2 separate regions of the Homo sapiens genome follow, and region 2 is linked to region 1. The links are contacts of gene promoters, found by promoter capture Hi-C in human tissues and cell types (Jung and others, 2019). All regions are on one chromosome and are shown on one strand. The core of a region is centred on a gene start or on the middle of the fragment in contact, and the rest is flanking DNA. Distances in the headings are between cores, read along the strand shown. Region 1 holds the start of FBN3 (fibrillin 3). Region 2 holds the start of LOC107985282 (a long non-coding RNA gene).

Region 1 (2,700 bases), core at 155-2,654:
TGATGGCACAAGCCCGTAATCCCAGCTACTCGGAAGGCTGAAGCAGGAGAATTGCTTGAACCTGGGAGGTGGAGGTTGTAGTGAGCCAAGATCGTGCCATTGCACTCCAGCCTGGGTGACAGGGCAAGACTTTGTCTCAAAAAACAAACAAAACAAAACATAAACAAAATCCTCTCCCTCCCTGCAAATTGTGAGTTTACCCTATTGAACTCCCAAAGCTGACTTGCTGAATATACTCCCACCATAGCACTTCCGGAATGGAGACAGGGTCTCCAATTTTTGGAGATAGGGTCTTGCTCAGTTGCCCAGGCTGGAGTGCAGTGGCACAATCATAACTCACTGCAGCCTCAACCTCCTAGGCTGAAGCAGTCCTCCTGCCTCAGCCTCCTGAGTAGCTGGGACTATAGATGCATGCCACCAGGCCTGGCTAATTCTTTTTAATTTTTTTTTTTTTTTTTTTTTTAGAGATGGGGTCTCACTATGTTACCCAGGTTAGTCTCGAACTCCTGGTTTCAAGCCCACTGGGCTTACTTATTTATTAGATTCCGGAAGTACTGTGGTGGGGGGATATTCAGCACAATCAGCTTTGGGAGTTCAATAGAGTAAACTCACAATTTGCGGATAGGGAGGGAATTTTTGAACTGGACTTTGACAGATGCGTAGGAGTTTGCTGGATGGAGTAACAGCTTCAGGCCCAACGCACAGCTTCTGACAGATCCCCATGTTAAGGGTCTATTCTCAAAGGTATGAAGGTAGTGGAAAAGCCTAGAAATTTTTGTTTGGAGTACTGACAACAGATAGGGAGCCAAAATTCTTGTCTGGTCCCTTTGGTAGGTGGACAAACAGGTTCAAAGAGATTTGAAAGTTTACACCGTTTGAATTGTTAACCTCTTCATTTTGAGAACCAGATGAAAAACCTGGGCCCTTCTCCCTGGGAAATACAGCTTTGCCCAATGTTTTGTCAACATATTTAGGGGCCCCTGATCTCAGCCTAGTTAAGAATCCAGGCTCCAAGAGCCAGGTGAGTTTCCAACGTCACTCTCGCAATTCTCCTTGCTCGAGGGAGGGGGTGGCGGCTTGGGAGGCCCTGAGAGGGCCGCCCAGGTGAGTCCCGGGACTTCTCTGCCCAGGCTGTCGTCCAGGCCCTCCAAAAGTCAGAGCCCCACCTCCACCTTAGTCTCGATCCGAAAACGCGGCCCCGGCAGCCCCTACTAGGCGCCCCCAGCCCGCCCTCACATCCCTCCAGTCCATCGGAGTTTTTCACTCGGAGCCCCGGACCCTCCCCCGAGCCGCAGCCTCTCTCCCCGCCCCGGATCGGAGCCCCCCGTCCCCGCCCCGGGAGCTAAGAGGTGCAAACGCGCCCTCCTCCAACTCCTCCCGCCCCCAACTCCCCCCCGAGTGGCAGCTCTGGGCTGGGAACGCGGCGGGGTCGGCCTCTCGGCTTTGCGTTCCCGCCCCGGGTCCCCGGCGCCGCAGGAGCCCGCCCTGCAGCGCTGAGTCCCGCGCGTCCGCCTGCCGTGCCCGCCTCCACGCGCGCCGCCTCGCAGGTAGGTGAAGGCGCGGGGCCAGCGGCGGGGCGAGATCGCGGGCGCTGAAGGGTGGAGAAGGCGGGGGCGGGGGGGCCGGCAGGGGGAGGGGGAGAGGATTCCTTTGTTCGCAGCCGGGCAGCCCCGGGCCCAGCCCCCTCCCCTCTCCGCCTTCTAGTGGCGCCCGCCGCAGTGGGGAGTGGGGGCGCGGGGACCCGGCGGGAGGGGCTCGGCCGGGGCGCGGGGCCCCTGACCCCACAGGTGAGGGCGGAGCCAAGCGTGGTCGCGGCCGGGGGCCCTGCCGGGTGGAGATCGCGCCCCGCGGGCTCCGGGGGCGCCCCCTCCCCGTCGGCGAAGCTTGGTATCCCTCGCTGTTTGGCCCTCAGCCTCCACACCCCGTGCCGGGCGCGCCTTCTCTGCTCATTCATTCCACAAACTCCAGGGTGTGGCTCGCAGAAGCAGCGGTGTGTAGGGGGGACCGAGGCAAATCAGGCCAGAGACTCCCCCCACCTAATTCCCCCACCCGACCCGAGGCAGGGGGCTGGGGCGGAGGGAGTGGGGGAGGAGGGCTTGCAAGCCCCGAGGCTGCTTGGAGTCCACGGAGCCTCAGAGTGCGGACTGACCCGGACAACTGAGAAGAAAAAGAGGGCGCCCCTCTCCAGCCAGCCAACCCTCCAACGTTGACAGGGGTCTCTCCCTTCTCCGGGGCCTTTGGACAACCAGGTTGGCCCAGAGAGGGGCGTGGCCAAGACCACACAGCAGGGCTCCCCGCCCATTCTCCACCTAGGGCCGGTTCCTTTCCTCCCTGGAACCTGAATGGAACAGGAAGGCCACTTGGTCTGGCTTCTCTCCCTCAAGTATTTTGCCTCCACCCTCCAAACGGTCGTCTCCTGTCCCGGTCTTCTCCCTCCCGTCCTTCATGGCCCAGGAAAGACCCAGCCAAGGGGGGCAGGAGCGAGTTCCGTTCCTGATCTTCTTCCCCTCCTTCTTCTCTTCGTGGGCTTAAGCTCCGGCTTAGCCCCTCACTCATGGTGTGATGGCCTTAGTTTGTGCATCTGTGAAATGGGCACAGAAGCGGTCCCTTCCCTGCTGGGCACAGGGTTACTCTCTGCATTGGGAAGTTCCAGCCCCTGCCTGGGCCCCCTGCCCAGGGAGGCATCCAGCCCTGACCTGG
Region 2 (2,892 bases), core at 128-2,627, 92 kb before region 1:
AGTGTAGGGGATGAGGGAGAACCACAGGAGCAATGGCTTCTCACAATCTCAAGCCTTGCCTCTGCTGATGTGCCCAGCTTCAATGCCCACCAGTTTACTGACTGATACTCTGCTCCCACCAGACCATATCGTTTCACACATCCTAGCCTTTACAAATACTGGCCTCTGCCTAGAATGCTCATTTAGTATTTGGGTGCTGAAGACACAAAATGGTGGGGAAAACAAGCAACATCTCTGCCCTGAAGAGCTTAAACGCTTTCTTTCTCTGTTTGGCAAACTCCTATGCATCCTTCAAAACCCAGCTCAGTTGTCACCTCCTCCTGAAAGCAGCCCAATTGCCCTGCTTTGGATCCTGTTAAAGCACCCTCCCGCAACCCTGTCTTACTGTGATGTCAGGAGCTGGCCAGTGTTTTTGCAGGGAGGGTTGGAGAAGGAAGCATAACCAGTTCTAAACTCTCCTCTCCTCTGCTGAATCATGCCCATTGCTTCCTGAGTGGCACAGAAAGGGGAACAGATGCACTTTCTAAACCAGGGAGCTCTCCAAGGAGGCTTCAGACTGATATGCCCTGATTGCAGAGGTCTGGCCCCAGAGGTCCTACTCTCTCACTAACCTCACCAACCTGTCTCTGTCTCGTCCCTTCCCTCTTCTCCCTCTTAAAGCATAAATAAAAGATGCTGTGGTTTGAGAAAAGAACAGGGTCTGGAGCCCAGCAGACTGGCTGGAGTCCTAGCTGCAATGCTTCAAAGCCCTGGGAGCCTCAATTTCGTCACCTGTTGGTGGGACAGGTGCCCTCCCTGAAGGGTGGTTAAGCAGCTCAGAGACCTTGCACCTGGGGCATTGAGGCAGAGTCTGGCATATGGGAGGGGCTCAGGCATGGCTATAACCAGGCACCTCAGGCCAGCAAGGCTCAACTTCTCCTGAGGGAAGGGAGGAAATGAGGCTGAGGGATGTGTTCCTCAATTTCTAGCTTTTCTCTTTTGGATCCAGTTCTTCTGTTTGTTCCCTGTCATCCTCTGTCTTCCTGGGCCTCAGTTGTCCCATCTGAAAAATGGGTACAGCTAGATTCCCTCCTTGTTCTACCAGGCTATTGTGAGGCTCAGGGCAGGCGGGCAGTTTATAAACACTCCATGCTGATATCACAACGGATCTGATTCCTGATTCCTGCCTCACCCGTTTACCAGGCATGGAACGTGGCCTATCTGTGCCTCAGTTTTATCTGTAAAATGGAACAAACAATAGCCCCTCTTCCACATGGAGTGGTTCGGAATGGCACCTGAGGTGGAGTGAGCACCTAGTAAAATTTAGAGGACCGAGTGCAGTGGCTCACACCCAGCACTTTGAGAGGCCGAAGTGGGAGGATTGCTTAAGGTCAGGAGTTCGAGACCAGCCAGGGCAACATAGCAAGACAAAAAAATTTAAAAATTAGGTGGGCATAGTGACACACACCTGTAATCCCGGCTACTCAGGAGGCTGAGGTGAGAGGACTGGTTGAGCCCAGGAGTTTGAGGCTGCAGTGAGCTGTGATCACACCACTGCACTCCAGCCTGGGTGACGGAGCAGATCCTGTTTCGGAAAAAAACCCCCCAAAAAACAGCTTAGACTGTGATAGTTACTGCTAGACAGGAGGTGGGGGCAGGATGGGGAGTGGTCTGGAAAGAAGGGGTGCTGGCCTATGGAGGCTTCTAGATGGTTCTTCCAAGCCCTTAGGACGGTTTCCAGCATCTGAGGTGCCTAAGGCTGCTGGAAGCTTTCCTTGCCCCTGCCACCTTCCCTTAAAGCTGCAGCTGAAGTGTTTGGGCTGGGCTGGACGACAGCAGCTTCAGGGTCATCTGCAGAGCCACCGCGTGGGTGGCAGGGCCAGTGTGACCAGCCTCTTCTCCCCTCACCCCACCCGCCCCCAAGCCTGGCTGCTGTTTGAAGCCTCCCTGGCCCCACTCCCAGCTTGGCCCCTGCCACCTGGGAACCAAACTGATAATCCTTCTTAGTGGCTAAAAATAGCCCCAGATTGGGGGAAAGAGAGAGAATGGGGCTTTGTACTGACACGGGAGGTGGGTTAGGGGGCATGAGTAGAGGATCCCTGCCCCTCTTCAGGGGTCTGAGTGAGAAGGACTGGTTCCCACGGCTTCCCCGAACCCCCAAGGACCCTGGCACTGCTCAGCAGATCAGAGCTATGCACATAGGTTTGTTTTGTTTTGCTTTCAATCTAGCTGGAAATACAGGACTTGTCCATGGTTGTGAAAAAGGCAATTAATTCAGACCCCAGATGTCTGGGCCTCCCAGAGATGAAAACACACACACACACACACACACACACACACTTGCATACATTGACTCACTCACCCGCCCCTGCAGCCTGGCCCGCTGCCTGGGGTCACCTGATTCCTGCGGCCAGAGGCTCAGGCGGGAGCACGTGACATGCTGGAAGGAAGGGGGCTGTTTGCAGATAACCACAGCCTGCCTCTGCACCGGGTCCTGGCTGTCCCTTCCAGACGGACCTGTCTCTTCCACTCTGAGCCTCTCTGAGCAGAGGTCCCACAGGGTGTTAGTGACCAGAGATGCTGCCGGTTGAGGTACCACTCCCCCCAAAGACCCCAAGGTGGACCCCAAGTTCAAGGTTCCGCCTTACCTGAGCCCCTTATTTCTGCACACATTCCTGCCCTCTACATTCTGGCCCTGCTGCCTCCCCACCTCTGCCTCCCCAGCTTAATCCATAGCAACTGCTGCTTGCTGGGCTTCCAACTCACCAAGCTCACTTGTACCATGTTTGCACCCCAGACAGTCACATACATGTCTGACTGTGTTATCATTCTTATTTCAGCTCAAATGTCACCTCCTCCAAGAAGACTTCTCAGACTACCACCAAAGAGGCCACCATATTATTCTGTCTCCTG

The links. Contacts are between HindIII fragments. The study calls those that stand out against the background at their distance.
Region 2: a fragment that was not itself captured here is called in contact with the fragment with the promoter of FBN3 in region 1 in 4 of the 25 tissues and cell types used here (heart right ventricle, lymphoblastoid cells, spleen and 1 more).

Annotation. Positions count from the first base shown.
Region 1 is chr19:8,148,296-8,150,995 of GRCh38, reverse strand. It overlaps FBN3 (fibrillin 3), which reads left to right and starts at 1,404. Exons shown (of 64, transcript NM_032447.5): 1 at 1,404-1,547. RefSeq lists an enhancer at 2,247-2,700. The HindIII fragment of the contact is 21,800 bases long and covers 1-2,507 here.
Region 2 is chr19:8,240,013-8,242,904 of GRCh38, reverse strand. All of the region lies in intron 2 of CERS4 (ceramide synthase 4), which reads right to left. It overlaps LOC107985282 (a long non-coding RNA gene), which reads left to right and starts at 2,411. Exons shown (of 2, transcript XR_001753859.2): 1 at 2,411-2,571; 2 at 2,820-2,892. RefSeq lists a silencer at 2,340-2,389. The HindIII fragment of the contact is 3,994 bases long and covers 1-2,892 here.